Regions from separate parts of the Homo sapiens genome. Here all the other regions are linked to region 1. Evidence: promoter capture Hi-C in 16 types of primary human blood cells and fetal thymus (Javierre and others, 2016). All regions are on one chromosome and are shown on one strand. The core of a region is centred on a gene start or on the middle of the fragment in contact, and the rest is flanking DNA. Distances in the headings are between cores, read along the strand shown.

Region 1 (4,028 bases), core at 911-3,410:
GGACACCCTGCAAGCCCCACCCAGGTGGGCAGAAACCTCCTGCGAGTCCCTGGACGTGCGCGGGCCGGTGCGTACTCCCGAGTCACCGTCCTGAGCTCACGCCGCCCCTCCCTGGGCTGCTGTCTGGCCTCCTTTTGCTGTGCGCTCCCAGCGCTCTAGCTTCTAGATTTGAGGTTTTGTTTGGGGGCAAAGAAAGCTTTTATTGGGGAGACTTTGTTTGCTTTAGGTCTCGGAATTCTCCTCCCAGGCAAAGCGTTTCTCAGAAGGGCTGCGGCCGCTTGCCAAAAACCCTAGCGGCTCCCAGACACGCCGCGAGCCTGAGTCCACGACCCCGGCGCCCAGTCCCACATAGGCCGCGTTGGTAGCAGCTGCAGCAGCCGCTGAAACCCAGTCCGGCCCGGAGCTTCCCGGGAAGCGGTCTCCGCAGCTCAGAAGAAACTGGTGTGGCCAATACCCTGCATTCACACGTGTGTGCATATGTGTGCGCGCGCACGTGTGTGTGCAGGAGAGGAGGCGAACGGGCTGCAGGAGGGAAGGAGGAAACAAAACTGCCCGAGAGTTCGCTTTGCCGCCTCCTTTGTCTCCTTGCTCGGTCCCTGTCACACATACAGCTGAGGACACACACACACACACACACACACACACACACACACACAATTCCTCTCGCATCTGCTCTCAGCCAGCATTTTCAATGTTTTGTCTAAGTCAATTGGACGGCGAACAAAAAAAGCCATTTGCTCAGTATTATTTAAAACAGACTTCATTGGGCCACCCTTTTGTGGAAGGTTTATTTGCACTAAATGAATAATCTTAATTGCATCACTCTCGAATTAAAAATCAATGTTAATCAAGTTGGGAGTAGTAAATATCAGTTTTCATTGTGACTGGGTAGAGGGCATTTTTCTTGTGTTGCAAATAAAAATACAAGTCAAATAACTTTAAAAGGGCATTATGTTCTGCTACAAATACAATTGAAACGGATTGTTTAGGAGCAGATCAGAAATGGTACAGAATTTTGCACTTAATTTCCTCAGTTATCATTTACAATAAGAACCTCTAGGCTTGACAGCCAAGTCTAAACAGTAGTAAATTAGTACAAATTTATACTGATTTTACTCTAATAATCGTAATAAAAGCTTATAGATTTGGCACTAATTACATAAATGCCTAATGATCTTGAAAATTACTCTGGTTAGAAATATATTACTAATCTAAACTTTGTTGTTGGCTGGCTCTGAAAAATCAGAACATTAGAAATGGTTCGCTTCACTTGTGCAAAGCACTTTAAATTGTTCAAGTAGTTTAACATATTCAAGAGGAAAATAAAGAGCATTTAACTTTATTTACAGCCTTAAGTGGAGTTGGGAGCCGAGCTGAACTTAGAAACTTTGACCAAAAGAGCGAGTTAGGGGCGAGGATGCGGGCGTGGGCCAAGCGGAAGAGCAGGAGCCGGGAAGAAGCCCGGTGAGAAGAGTGCAGAGCGCTCGAACCCACACTCCGCGAGGGTCCCCAAAGCAGACAGCGGGCGCTGGCGGTGCCAGGGAAGCCGACTCCTCTTTGCGCTCTAGGCCCACTGTGGGGTTGGGGCTCGTATAGACCCCAGGGCACAGCCAGGGCGCCTGGACCCTAGGCGCAGGCCTACTGAGCCGCGGCGAAGTCCAGGCGTTGTCTGAAGGCCGCGGTGTGCCCTCGTCGCGCCCTGGGCTGGCGGGCCAATATGAGCGGCAGGCCCAGAGAGCGCAGGTGGGGGCGACCCTCAGGTCACGCCAGGGTCATGGCCCGCTCTGACCCCTGCTCTGCCCCTGCCCTAGGAAGATGTTAGCTCAGAGGCACAGAGCTACGCCTTCGAAGCGCGCAGCGCCGGCCAAGGGGAAGGAAAGGGGAGCCTGGAGAAAATCGCAGGGAAGAACTAGAGGGAGCCGGGCCCAGAAGCTCAGGGCGAGGCCGAGGCGGCTGAGGCTGCTTTAGCTCCTGCTCCGGGCTGGAGCTGCCAGGGCTGCCGCCGCCGCCTCCTTCAGGCGGGCGCAGGCGAGCGGGCGGGCGGAGTGGGGGACTCTCCGGGCGCTGACATTTGCAGGCTGCCCTCCTGATTGGTCCCCTCGCCGAGCTGCTCACGGGTTCATTCAACTGTTAAGCACCTCCCCGTCTCTCTAAAGGACATTATAATGCAAGAAGCCCCCTTTTTAACCACAAACCGAATTTTCTTTCATTTAGGTGATCTATATATATCTATATCGTATAGCTTATAGCTTATATCTATTTTAAATAACTTAAAGCCGCTAAAATTTGGGGGGGAACAGCTTTCGCCCTGGAGCGGTGCGCGATGCTGTCTCATGCCGACCTCCTGGACGCCAGGCTAGGTGAGTGCGCGCCTCTCGCCCGGGCAGCCAGGAGAAGCCGGGGCAGGAAATTGTCAATTTGTTCCTTATTTTACCTTAATGCGACCTAAATGGACTAATTTCTTTAAAAGTAATTGTGCTGCATTAAAGTTTAATTTGATTTAACATCGCCTTTAAAAAAAAATCTATGGAATATGTAGATCCAAGAAAGGAGTTGGGGAATGTTGTTACTTTTTGTTTTTCTTATTTTTCTCTTCCCCCCTCCCCCGCCTTTTTTTTTTTTTCGAAAGGCGATATACCCCGTGATAATTTGTTAGGAGGTGTTTCTCTCTCTTTTTTCCCTCTCCTGTTTGTTTTGATTTGGGATTTCTTTCTCCTTCCCTCCCCCCGTTTCTCTCTCCCCACCATCTTCTTCTCTCCTCCTTTTCTAAGTGTGGTGTAATTTGTAAAAAATCTGGCATAAAGGAGAAGCTGCTGCCATCAAGGCGGATTTGCTAAGTGTGCTGGTTGAGAAGGAGAGAAGCCAAATTCAACCTCACAGTCATCCCCCCCTCTTCTGCAAGGGACTCAGCGTTGCCAATGGCTGTGAGGAATGCGCCTTTTATTTCTCTGGAAAGAAAAGTTGAAATCTCTAAAGTTTGATTCACGGTTGTCCATAGAGTTCACTCGAGTTTCCTTAATGCTATCTGGGTTGCTGAGCTCTGGGTTTCCGGATTGGGAATCTTCGGTGATGGATGTGACTCCATTTTCCAAACACTTTCTCTGATTTGAGGGGGAGGCGGAGCTGATTTGGGTTGATTTCGGGGGGTGAAAGCTTGGAGGCTTATTCATCTTCCGAAAGTAAGAGGGAATCGGCTGAGGGCCGGAGGTACAGTTCGTCAGGCTGCCGAAGCGCAGGTGCCGCAGCAACCGAGGAATTGTTTAATTTTCTTTCTGCCCCCCGCACCCCTGTGTCCAAAGATTTGCTCTCGATTTCCTGGGGCGCCTGGGGTACGGTTTATGGAAGGGATTCAGAGGCATGTTTTATTGCCGGGACTGGGAGTGTTTTATTGTGGGAGAGACGAAAGCTTGTGCTGTTTACTACGGGAGCCGGCTGCGGCGAGGGCAAGGGGCCGGGAGATATTATTCCAACCCGGCTGTCCAAATTCTGGGGAACCCAGCTGAATACCCTGGGAGTTTCTTCCTTAGGACAAGCGCGGGTGCGGAGGGGGCCGAGGACGGGTTGAAGGAAGGCTGCGCGGGGAAGACAGCCCCTCCTGGCATCGCCAAGAAAGTAGTGACCGCGATCCCCTTGCCTCCTCAGGTATGAAAGATGCCGCCGAGCTTCTGGGCCACCGGGAGGCGGTGAAGTGTAGGCTGGGCGTGGGGGGCTCCGACCCCGGGGGCCATCCGGGGGACCTGGCGCCCAACTCTGACCCAGTGGAGGGAGCCACTCTGCTGCCCGGGGAGGACATCACCACAGTGGGCTCTACTCCGGCCTCGCTGGCGGTGAGCGCCAAAGACCCGGACAAGCAGCCCGGGCCCCAGGGCGGCCCGAACCCCAGCCAAGCCGGCCAGCAGCAGGGCCAACAGAAGCAGAAGCGCCACCGGACGCGCTTCACCCCCGCACAGCTCAACGAGTTGGAGAGGAGCTTCGCCAAGACTCACTACCCCGACATCTTTATGCGTGAGGAGCTGGCACTGCGTATC
Region 2 (4,028 bases), core at 959-3,458, 820 kb after region 1:
GGGAAAGAGAAGCCCTGATTTCCAAGTGTTTTCCTTGCCTTGCCTCCTCAATTCAGTGTCCTTCACCTGTACCCTGAGAAGGTTGTGATCTCGGCTGAGTTCGTTTCTATGAGGCAGTCTTTTGGAGTGAGGCTTTGGGAAGAAAATCAAACCCCAAATCGGCCCTGCAGCCACCTGAGGGGCACGCAGAAGGACCGGCTAAAAAGCGAGTGAGCAAAGACCCACCCTGAGGGCAGAAAAGCTTTGCTAACACTGTATTTCTTATTAAAATCAATTTAGTTTTAAGGTGGGAGGAAAGCTCCATCTGCCTAAATCAATTGTCAGTGTTACTTCACTAACCCTTTGGGAAAGTTACTTTGCAAGGGAATAAAAGTATGGTGGGGGGAGGATGAGGAACAAGGTGCAATATTAAGTGGCTATAGTTAACAAGTAACCTGATTTTTCCTTATTGTTAAATCAAGTTCGCCTTATAATCCAGGGATCTCCCAATCCCCCAAGAGTAGTAAACAAGAACAAGACAAATAATCGGGGCATGCTTCCTACAGGGATCTCTGAATCATAAAGATGTTGAATCAGCTATACCAACATGTATTTTTTTAAAGTTTGCACATACTAACCTTTGCTCCTGAATTTTAAGTTTCCAACTTTAAAGGACATAGAGGAGAGGTGTCCATTACAGTTTTCAATACTTCCTGGAACTAAATGCCTTTATTCTGATGCTGATTAAGAAAAAAAAATATACCAGCGGTGCACAGTTTTCAAGCTTACACCATTAACACCCTTTTCCCTAACTGCAGAGGGAAAAGAATCACATTCTTCCATCTAATTCCAACCCACTGTGACTTGCTCTTTTACTTCGTCTTTATGAAGAGGAGGATAAAAGTGAGAAATGCGCATTTCTGAGGGAAATTAAAAGCTCCCTTTGCTACCCAGGCTGCCCCAAACAGAGGGGCCTCGGTTAGGATCACAGTGGCGCGATCGCAGGTCAAACATCCCCCACGGCCACAGCGAGGCCTGCTGGGCCCGGAAGAACACACTCCCAGCAATACAAGTTCGAGCACACCCGGAGCAGCACATCCAAGGAACGCGACGGCCGGGCGCAAGTGCTGCTCTGTTCCCAGGCCAGCCAGCCTCTGGCCTGCAGACCTGGGTGGCAGCCAGTGGCCGCTCCGGGTGGCACACTAGGAAAGTCCCGGAACCCCAGGCCCAGAGGGTCAACTGGTCAAATATAAGGCAGGGTCCAAAAAGTTCCGCTCGTAAATCCTCGTGGCGCCCAACGGGCCTGAGCGCTCATTACCACCAGAACCCATCAGGGACCGGCCCTGACTTTCATACCCCGGGCCTTCCACTGTGGGTGCCAGGAGCAGCGGGACCCGGGTGGGTCTCGAACGCAGGGGCCAGAACCCGAAGAAAGGCTTCCAGCAGTTGGAGAGGGACGCAAAAAACAACCTAGAAGGCTCCCGGGCCGCGGGTTCCCACCCACTCCGCCCTGCCCTGCGCAATCAGCTCGCTAACCCCACCGGCCCCGCGGGGCCAGCGGAGGAAGTCTCCGGAGTTGGCAAAAAGCTCTTAATGACTTAGTGTTTACAAAGCAACCAAGCCCGGGGAGGGGACTAGGTCCTCTGCGTACCCTTTAGACACAGCTACTCCTTCCTTCCCTCCCTTTCCCCGAACCCACGCTGGGGCCTGGAGGTGCCCAGCATGACAGCCTCTACGGGAAGTGGGGTCTTTGGGGAAATCTCTGCCTCTGCCCGGCTCCGCTGACTTCAGCTGCTCCCGCATGTCCCACCTGGGTGCCTCCTTGGCGCAGAGACCTCACATCAAAGCCACCAAGGGGAGGCTAAGGGATTCGTAGAGATGGGTGCCGGCAGCAGAACAGCCTTCGCACACCTGCCCGGATCCCACCGTCTGCCCAGCGTGCCCAGGACCCCAGCTCCTCAGAGATAAGAGCCCTCCTTGGCCAGGTTTCTCACCTTGGATGGTGCCACTGCAGGAGAGAGAGGCTGCTAGCAGGATGGCGGCCCCCAGCAGCCACGCCGCGCTGGGGCTCCGCATCCTCCTGGAAGCCCCGACGCCGGGCGCGCGGGGAATCCGCCGCCGCCGATTCGAAACTCAGAGCTCCACTGGACGCACCGAGAGAAAGTCAGCCTCTCACCTGCCCCGAATCGGAGCCTCTGCTGCGCGCCTCCCCAGGGCGGGTTAGGTTTCAGGGAAACCGAAGGAGCAGCGTACTCACCTGCGGGAGGCCACGCCCCGGGACCGGAACGCGCGCCCTGGTCCCGCCCCCGGCCCCCTTCCCTGCGCAGCTGCGCCCTCCGCTTCCCGGACTCGCGCCAGGTCCCTTAGACTGCGGGAGCCGCCTGCGGGCGGGGTTGAGCGCATGAGGTGTCTGCTTTGGAATGCAAATAGCAGGAGCGCTGGGACCACGGGTTAATCCCTGCCTAGGCTATACCGCGAACTACCTTTAATCTTTACTTACTCCTAGAGAAGCGGGTCGTCGGTCTCCCTTGCCTTTCCTGACTGTGGGAAAGCCACGATTCGTACTCACTGCAATTGTGGTTGGTAACTGATACAGACAGGGCTTCCCGGTGCGGTGGACCCTGCAGGAGGAGGGATGCGTTTTTTATTGTAGAGGCAGGTGGGCAACTGCGGACATCACGAAAGCGGTGGGGAGCACAAGAGGCGGGGCGGGAAAGAAGACATGGAATGGCTACTTTCAGCGCCAAGTGCCAAAGCTTTAGAGAATTATCTTGCTTAATCCCCATAACAACCAGCGCAATAAGTATGATTATTCTTCCCATTTTACAGACGAGGAAAGTGAGCTTAGAAAGACCAGATAAATTGGCCAGAGTTACACGACTTATAAACACAGTGTATAAATGTTTATCACATTTCAACTCCAGTATAAGACTATCACTGTCTTCTATTCATCGCTGCACTATAAATGCGTCCACCAGGGCTCCTCTGCATTGGGATCCCATAGGCTAAATAAATACAAAAGCAGATAGAAGGGGTGGGAGAAGAGAAGTGTGGGGTTGGGGATGAGTGCATGAGGGTTGGCATCATATTGGTAATGTCTTACTTTTTGTTTTTGAGACGGAGTCTCGCTCTGTCTCCCAGGCTGGAGTGCAGTGGCGTGATCTCGGCTCACTGCAAACTTTGTCTCCTGGGTTCAAGCAATTCTCTGGCCGCAGCCTCCCGAGTAGCTGGAGTTACAGGCGTGCACCACATCTGGCTAATTTTTGTATTTTTAGTAGAGGCGGGGTTTCACCATGTTGGTCTGGCTAGTCTCGAACTCCTGACCTCGTGATCAGCCCACCTCCGCCTCCCAAAGTGCTGCGATTACAGGCGTGAGCCACCGCACCCAGCATGTCTTACTTTTTATTTGCTTTTTAAAAGATTGAATAAAACAAAGTCTACTGTTACCCATTTAAACTATTGGTACCAGAAGAGCACAGAAGAGAGACATAGGTATTTTCAAATATTTAAAGGATTCGCTTGTAGAAGAGGATTTAGATGTGTTTTGAGTTGCTCCAGAGAGCAAAAATTGGTGGAAGCCACAGTGGGGTTTAATTTCAGCTCAATGTATAAAGAAATTTTCTTTATTTTTTATTTTAATTTCTATTAGAAAATAGAAGTGGGGTCTCCCTATCTTGTCCAGTCTGGTCTGGAACTCCTGGCTTCATGTGATCCTCCCCACTCAGCCTCCCAAAGTGCTGGGATTACAGGAATGAGCCACCACACCCGGACAGGCTTCTCCCCTTGTTGACATCTGTGTGATCCCAAGTTTACTTATCCTCTCTAAGCTTTCTTATAATATATATATATATACACACACACGTGGTTTAAAGGTTTATAGGTGTCTGTCTGAGGATAAAATAGTGACTAGTGACTGGGTTTGATACATGGTAGAAGCTCAATAAATATTTTTTGTTTATTTCCTTTCTCTGAGGAGTCTTCATACTCCACCTGCACCCCAGCTCTCACCTCAGCCCATGCCCACTTTTCCTCCCAGGAAAAGCTGACTT
Region 3 (4,028 bases), core at 846-3,345, 790 kb after region 1:
CAGATGGGATATGGCTCAGAGCTCCCAGAACTTCACTTTTTTTTTTTTTAAAAGAAAAAGTGAGAAATTTTAATTTTTAAGAATTCCTGGATTTTAAGACTGCAACTCAAGACAAACAAACAAAACCCACCAAAACCCAACAGACAAACATAAGACTGCAGGACAACTCAAACAGGAAATTCAGCGAATGCTGGCCAGCTTGTGACTTCTGCTTTCTGCTGTGTACTTTATATTTAACCTCATTCCTTCCTCTACTTTACATCTCGTTCTTTTCTGTCTGCTTTCTCTCCTACTTAATTTATAATATCTTACTCTACTTTGTGTTATCTTCATATGTCACCTTAAATCCTACCTAGGACCCAGGAGAGTATAAATAAACTGACCACAGGACATCTCCACTTAGGTAACACATCAGAGTCTCAGATTCCAAACCACAGCAAACTGATTTTGGCATTTTCCAATCCCCTGCTCCCTTCTTCCTCTACCCCAGAGGGGATCCCCTTTTTTTGCTGCTCCAGTCAACAGCAATACCCTCATTCACCCAACTGCATGGCCAGAAACCTGAGTATGATGCTATTCCTGGCCCCTCTCTCTCTCTCATGCAATCAGTTGCCAGGTTGTATCTCCTCACTCTCTGTTCCTTCCTCCTCAACCCTAGCGCCATAGTTCAGGCCCTTGTCACTTCTGGCCTGAATTACTGCATGAGATCCCAACTCACCTCCTGCACCTACTTTGCTCTTCTTCAAAATTAGCCTCCCCTGCCTGCTGGGAGGCACACCTGAGCTCCTCACTTAACCTCCTGGACAGGCCCTGCCATCCCCTGGCTAAATCTAAACTCCCCGCAGTGTGCCCACCCATCCCCTCTGCACCATCTGTGCCGCACACGTGGCACTGCCACTGTGCTGCCCATTCCTCTGCTCAGGTGCCAGTCCTCCAGGGAAGCCTCCGATGCCCCTCAGCTCCTGGGAGCACTCCGCCTCTGGGTGCCCCTGTATCACCTCATGCTTTCCTCTAGACCTGCACCGGCACTGGGTTGAAGGAAAATAATAGTAGCCAACGTTAATTAGCACATACTCTGGGCCAAGCACCCTTCTAGGCAGTTTAAATGTATTCCTTTATGTCATCCTCAAAAATCCCATGAGGAGGCTGGGGAGCGGTGGCTCATGCCTGTAATCGCAGCACTTTGGGAAGCCAAGTGGGAGGTGGAGGTTGCAGTGAGCTGAGATCACACCACTGCACTCCAGCCTGGGTGACAGAGTGAAACTCCATCTCAGAAAAAAACAAAAAACAAAAAAAACTTTATTTCTCTGTCTAACCCAAATTTTGTGTCCTCTCACCAACTTCTCCCCAGCCCCTCCATCCCTCTTCCCTCTCTTCTTCTGTAGGCTGAGAGCAGCCATTCCAGGGCTGATTGTCCAGGCATGCCCAGCACTGGCCAGTGTGAAGAGGAGGAGCATAGACCACTGCTGTGACTTCCTGGGAGTGGGCTTACACTGGCATCTGTGCAGGCTTCAGGAAAAAGAAGCGAAATCACGGCGTGGATCTAAGGGGCCAAGCCTCACCTTGAAGGTTCTTCTGGGTCTTTGGCCTGGACAAGAACATGAAACTTGAATTTCTCAAGGTGAGGTGAAGGCCAAGCAGGAAGCCAGGATGGTCACCAGGAAAGGAGCCAGAATGAACTAAGTGTTCTTTAGGGCAAGGAACTTACCAGAACCTCTACGCTCCGAGCTATGATCAGGCTGCTCTCTCCCTCTCTCTCTCTCTCTCTCTCTCCCCCACCCCCCCGACCCCTTTGTGGCCAAGGTAAGGCCACATTTTAGAGTGGAAGCCCCAAGGCAACCCCCCACCTCACAACCTCCACTCTTGTTGCCCTCTCTAATCCAACGCCTGCCAGGCTCACACTTCAACCACTAGACTGAAAAGCAAGAATCTTCCACAAAAATAATCTTTTACCTTAGACCTGCTTCCTGTGCAGATGAGATAAGGAGAATGCTCTTGTCTGAATTTCTGGGCGTGGAGATTAGCAAGCCGTTTTCCTCCCAGCAGCTAGAGCGAGCAAGAGGCCCTGCTGTGAGTAGTGCTGTTCTGAGTCTGCGTGGTCCAGACTCACCACACTGCAGGCACGTTTCTTCATCAGGTGGGAAAGCAGGAAGAGGTTTAATTTAGGACCTAAAGCTGGTATATTGCTGAGTAAAAGAAATGGGAAGGCACCAAGTCTCTAACGAAATTGCGCTGGGTGCAGTGGCTCATGCCTCTAATCCCAGCACTTTGAGAGGCTGAGGTGGGTGGATCACTTGCGGTCAGGAGTTTGAGACCAGCCTGGTCAACGTGGCGAAACCCCATCTCTACTAAAAATATAAAAATTAGCCAGGCATGGTGGCGGGCGCCTGTAATTCCAGCTACTCGTGAGGCTGAAGCAGGAGAACGCTTGAACCTGAGAGGCAGAGGTTGTAGTGAGCTGAGCTCGCCGCTGCCCTCCAGACTAGGTGACAGAGCCAGATTCCGTCTCAAAAAAACAAAAAAAAAAGAAAAAGAAACTGCTTGTGATCCAACACTCCCCCACTGGTGCCTCCTCATGGTGAAGAGCAATTACTCTGGCACCAGAGTCTTGGGGTTCAAATCCTTACTTCACCAGTATGTGACTGGAAAAGCTACCTAACCTGCCTGCTGAAGCTTCATGGCTAATAATTCCTCACAGCATTTCTTTTTTTCTTTTTTTTTTTTGAGACAGAGTCTTGCTCTGTCACCCAGGCTGGAGTGCAGTGGCATCATCTCAGCTCACTGCAACCTCCACCTCCCTGGTTCAAGCTTCTGCCTCAGCCTCCCAAGTAGCTGAGATTACAAGCGCCCACCACTAAGCCTGGCTAATTTTTGTATTTTCAGTAGAGATGGGGTTTCACCATGTTGGTGAGGCTGGTCTTGAATTCCTGACCTCAAGTGATCCGCCCACCTTGGCCTCCCAATGTGCTGGGATTATAGGCGTGAGACACTGCGCCTGGCCCAGGAGGAATAAGTTTAAGAGCTCCCATTGTACAGCATGCTATCTATAGTTAATAACAATATATCGTGTATCGAAAATTGCTAAGACAGTAGATGTTAAGTGTCTTTATCACCCCCAAAAAATGACAAGTATATGGGGCAATTAAGTCAAATAGCTTGACTTAATAATTCCACAATGTATACATAAATTAAAACATCAAGCTGTATTTGTATACCATAATATATACAATTTTTACTTGTCAATTAAATAAATAAATACACAGAAAAGGGCAGAGACAGGTCAAGAAGCACAGCACTCAGTACAGAAATACAGATAACAATATATTGAAAGAAAGAATTCAAAGATAAATTTTTTTTTTTTTTTTTTGGAGACAGAGTCTTGCTCCATTGCCTAGGGTAGAGTACAGAGACACAATCACAGCTCTCTGCAACCTCAACCTCCCAGGCTCAAGTGATCCTCCCACTTCAGCCTCCCAAATAGCTAGGACTGCAGGGTATGCCACCACAACCTGGCTAATACTTGTATTTTTTTGTAGAGATGGGGTTTCACCATGTTGCTTGCCCAGTCTAGTCTTGAACTCCTGGGCTCAAGTGATCCTCCCAGCCTGGCTTCCCAGAGTGCTGGGATTACAGGCACCAGCCACCGCACCCGGCCAAAGATATGTTCTGAAGATTGAAACGTCTCTCTTTCCAAAATAACTACTCTTGGCCAGGTATGGTGGTGTGCGCCTGTAATCCCAGCTACTCGGGAGGCTGAGGCAGGAGAATTGTTTGAATCCGGGAGGCAGAGGTTGCAGTGAGCCAAGATTGTTCCACTGCACTCCAGCCTGGGCAAGAGTGAGACTCCGTCTCAAAAAACAAACAAAACCCAAAAACCTCTTGACTGGGTGCTGTGCCTCAAGCCTGTAATCCCAGCACTTTGGGAGGCAGAGGTGGGAGGATCACTTGAGCCCAAGAGTTCAACACAGCCTGGGCAACATAGGGAGACACCATCTCTACAAATTTTTTTTTAAAAATTAGCTGGGCAT
Region 4 (4,028 bases), core at 1-2,500, 550 kb after region 1:
CCTAATAAACACCCCCAACCTTCCCCCAACTCCTCTACCCCCGCCCCCACCCCGGCACTCACCATCCTTCAAGTCCATGTGTGACCTGATTCTTCTGGGAGGTGAGACAAGAGCTGAGATACAGAAACTGTCACACTGACCCTCTGCGCTTGCAAAAAGGCAGAGGGTCTATTGAGCTGGTTAACACTTAAGCCGTCAGCTGATGGTAAGGCTAAAAGAGCACACTGTAACACACGCCCATTTGGGCTCCGGGAATCACGGGATCCTGCCCCTGGACACTGCCGTGGGGCTGGAAGCCCAGCGCCCCAGCTTTTGCACCCTGGCTCCTGCACCCGTCCGTCTGCATGCTCCACCTCCCATAAGGGGTTTCAGCAGGCAGAGACCGAACACACGAGCCACAACCCTGTTGCACGTCCTGCAAAGGGCTGTGGGAGGGCGGGGGCCGGGAGGAAATCAGGGAACTCTCCTGTTTCATTGTCACAAGACTTGCAAGGCTTCCTTAAGAGAGGGGTACACTTCCCCACCCACTGACAGCAAGTTTTGACCAATAGAAAGTGAGCAGAACTGAGGCATGCGGAATGTGAGTTTGGAAAGCAGCTTGTGCCAGTCATGTACAGGAGCTAATTGTTAAATTTCCAGGAACTTGGCAAGCCACTTGTTGGACTGTTTGTAGCTTGAAATCGGCCATTGTGGGAGCATTTACATCATAGAAATAGCAAACACTACATATCTGGACTTCCCCCTTCTCCCTCAAAGTTGGTTTACCAGCCCAGCAGGGAGCATGGCCCAGAAAAGTTGACCTTTCAGCCTGGAGTGAAGAAAACTGGTGGAGTACTGCCAAAGCTCCCTGCAGCCACAGTAATTCGCTTGAGAAATGGACCTTTAAGCCACTGAGTTGCAGGGGTTGTTCGTTACCTGAGCATCATCTAGCCAAAGCTGGTACACCATGCTGGTGTTTTGGTGAACACCAATAAGCGCCGCCTTCATCTGTCCCAACCTAGGTTGGAGGGATTTCTTCCAATAACTTGTGACATCATGCGCCTACAGCCTGCAAAGATGCAAACCGCGCTCTGAGACTCAGGCCCGGGAATTCAGGTCTTGGAAGGTTAATGCAAAGTTGTAAAACAATAGTTACATTTCAACCACACTCAGCTATTGCGTCATCTTAAAACCCTGGCCAACACAAATCTGTCGCTCGCGATCCTTGGCGGTTTCAGAGCGACTCCCCTACCGCTTTCGGGCGAAGGCCACACGTGACGGCCCCCCTTTCCCCGCAGACGTGTGAATGCAGCGCTGTGTCTTTAAGGGGCACGCGCGGAGGTTTTCCGTCCGGGACAAAATGTCAGCGAGGCGCCTGGAGGGGGATCTACCATCTCGGACTCCCGACCCGCCGCCGGCTCCGGCCGCGTTTCCCGGGTAAAGGGGTGAGTGTGGGCTTCCAGACTCGGTGGCGAGGCGGGCTGGGCCGGGCAGCGGGGAGCGCAGGTGAGCAGCGACCGCGGACGCCCCTGCCGGCCTCCCTGGCACCCGCGCGGGGCGTGCCCTTCGCTGGGCTGCCCTTCTCCGGGCCGGCTGTCGCGACTGTGAGAAAGCAGGTGGGCCCGGGATTCTGTGGCAAGGCCCCGCTCACCGTCTTCCAGTGCCTCATTCTTGCTCCTTCCCTGCACTCCTCTTTCGACAAGCTTGTTCGGAATGTGGAAATTCGTCACCACTCTCCTGCTCTCCCTTTATTAAAGTTGTCTGATTACAGTCTTTTCACTGGGCAAGTGACTGGACGCCCTGCAGTGGGTTCTTTCTGTAACTGGGACTTGCTTGATGTCGCCCACTTTCGGAGGGAGAAAGCGAATGCAAGCCAAAAGCTTACACCAGAATCCCCACCCCTCCCCCACCCCTCATGGCCCCCAAACAAAAGAATTTTCCGCTCCTTTCGGAGTCCGCTGGAGCAGTTTCTGTGATTTCTTGCACGAACCAAATGCCCGAGGCTTAGCAAAGCAAAAACCCCCTTGAAGGAAAAAAATAAATACTTACCACTAGTCGAATTTCTAATGAGCCAAGACTACAAAGATAAGGTGTTTAAGAGAAACAGTTGTAGAAACAGCTTAATACATTGACCTAATTAGGGTAATTATTTTCTGCTGTTTTTATTCATATGCTGACACCTTTTGGAGGCAAGAATAGCTTGAGGCAGCCAAGAATAAAAAAAAAAGTAGACAGCAATACGTATTATAAAAAGACCAAAAGCCCAAGCCAGGTAATTCTCAATTTAAAAATTAAATTAAAAAAATCTTTGAGTCACAAAGGCCTTCAAAGTAGGGCAGCTTTAAATTCCTATAACTCAGATTAAATTATGCATTTTTACAAGATAAAATGGATCACCACCTTAATCTTTAGGACCATATCTATTAAGCAAAGTAATGCAGACCTGAAATAAAGGTCCACTTTAAGGGCAGAACACTTCACAATTTTCATTTTTAAAAGTGCATTAATAGAGAGAGAGAGTGCTTCTCTGCCTTTTAGCTAATGGTAGAAATATCTAAGAGTTTGGCTTATGCCATTTAGGAAACAACTCTGATTCACCCCTTAATTACCTGTGAGTCCAGTGTATTTTTTACAGTCCACATATAACCTTTTTCTAAATTTTTACACATTTTACCATTTATTCCCCAACTCAGGTTTTACAGTTTGGAGGCATTTTTACTTGTCTTTTAACTTCAGCTAAGCCTTCAGCCTGGTGATTCCAGACTAATTTTTCTAATTGTCTGGATCTCTTTATAAATAGATTAATATATGGCAGTAAACTAATATTTCAACAGAGATGGACGGATAACAGATGAACTGTGGTTTTCTTGACACTTCAGTTGTCAACTCTAATTACTTGTATTAATTATTATGCTCTGCTTTCATTAAAGTCACTGGTGGATGAAGTAAAAGAAAATGTTTTTAGTGTTTCCACATATGTCTGTGTGAATTTCACGTTAGTGTGAATTTCTCATCTAAGATCCAGGCTCAACCAACATATATTGATTTAAACTCTGCCTGGTCAACCCAACTACAGTAAGTAGCCTTGAGTATAGAAGGACAAATAGAGGTGTAGTTAATCTGCTATGTCCTTTTGAGAACAGTGCCTGGTTCTTTGGCCTTTAGCCTGCCAAATATTTTTTATGTGCACAAGCATAAGTATAAAATAATACAATCAACTTTTGTAGGTGCTTTATAGGATGAGTCTCAATATTATAGTCATACCTTGTGTATATGCCCATGTTTATACAGATTATTCATCCAGGTTTTGATCTCTTCCTTTATTCTTTATATTGGTATTCAGGGACATCATACTGAGGAATCTGGGATTTAATCTGATAGTTCATCAGAAGGATAGAACTTCTTCAGAAATTGAGTCAAATGGAGAGATAATTAATGTGAATTTATTGTCTTCCACAGGCTTAGATTTAAGAACTCCTTCCAAATAATGGATACTCAAATGAAACTCAGCTATAGCAAGTGCAGAGGCATGGTACCAGCAACACTACTCTCTCTCCTTCCTTGAAATATCTAAAATCTACATTTGTCTTTTCAGTTTTTTTCACCCTGAAATTACACTCAAAAATTTCCACTGTTAATTTCATGTTAGCAGTGCTTTTATTTAGCTTCAAGAAACTTTCTTTTAAAATAGGAGCTTGGAAGCCTCGTTATACAACTGAGGAACTGGAACTTCATTAGAGTCGAGTACTAAGGGTAATGTGTTTTGGTGATGGACAACAATGCGTTTGTGCCCTGTGGGGCATGGGAGGGGAAGGGATGCTGAACTGCATGAACTTTTGTGTTAGGGCCCCTAAGACATCAGCTCCCAGGAGCTGCCCATGCCCACCCCTTCCCCAGTGGAGATTATGTGACGGAATTCACCCGAAGGAGTGAGCACTGATTTCACCTTTACCACAGTGTGTTAGTAATCTGTTTTCGCGCTGCTGATAAAGACATACCCAAGACTGGGCAATTTATAAAAGAAAGACGTTTAATGGACTTAAAGTTCC

The links. Contacts are between HindIII fragments. The CHiCAGO score rates a contact against its expected background, and 5 or more counts as called.
Region 2: the fragment with the promoter of F2RL1 here is called in contact with the fragment with the promoter of OTP in region 1 in 1 of 17 cell types (non-activated CD4 T cells); the score reaches 5.2 in non-activated CD4 T cells.
Region 3: a contact is called between the fragment with the promoter of S100Z here and the fragment with the promoter of OTP in region 1, in 5 of 17 cell types (fetal thymus, activated CD4 T cells, erythroblasts and 2 more). The highest score is 7.9, in fetal thymus.
Region 4: the fragment with the promoter of ZBED3 here is called in contact with the fragment with the promoter of OTP in region 1 in 1 of 17 cell types (naive CD8 T cells); the score reaches 5.3 in naive CD8 T cells.

The regions. Positions count from the first base shown.
Region 1 is chr5:77,636,845-77,640,872 of GRCh38, reverse strand. OTP (orthopedia homeobox) reads left to right here and starts at 2,160. Exons shown (of 3, transcript NM_032109.3): 1 at 2,160-2,360; 2 at 3,643-4,028. The coding sequence starts at 2,324. RefSeq lists enhancers at 1,063-1,617, 1,618-2,174. The HindIII fragment of the contact is 2,017 bases long and covers 1,139-3,155 here.
Region 2 is chr5:76,817,210-76,821,237 of GRCh38, reverse strand. F2RL1 (F2R like trypsin receptor 1) reads right to left here and starts at 2,208. Exons shown (of 2, transcript NM_005242.6): 1 at 1,974-2,208. The coding sequence starts at 2,055. RefSeq lists enhancers at 1,257-1,874, 1,875-2,492 and a silencer at 2,180-2,474. The HindIII fragment of the contact is 1,972 bases long and covers 766-2,737 here.
Region 3 is chr5:76,848,081-76,852,108 of GRCh38, reverse strand. It overlaps S100Z (S100 calcium binding protein Z), which reads right to left and starts at 2,095. Exons shown (of 5, transcript NM_130772.4): 1 at 1,954-2,095. The HindIII fragment of the contact is 3,987 bases long and covers 1-2,675 here.
Region 4 is chr5:77,084,507-77,088,534 of GRCh38, reverse strand. It overlaps ZBED3 (zinc finger BED-type containing 3), which reads left to right and starts at 1,250. Exons shown (of 3, transcript NM_032367.4): 1 at 1,250-1,424. ZBED3-AS1 (ZBED3 antisense RNA 1) reads right to left here and starts at 1,820. Exons shown (of 3, transcript NR_182763.1): 1 at 916-1,820. It also overlaps a transcript of PDE8B not described here. RefSeq lists enhancers at 1-387, 388-990, 991-1,592 and a silencer at 1,409-1,578. The HindIII fragment of the contact is 2,300 bases long and covers 1-1,684 here.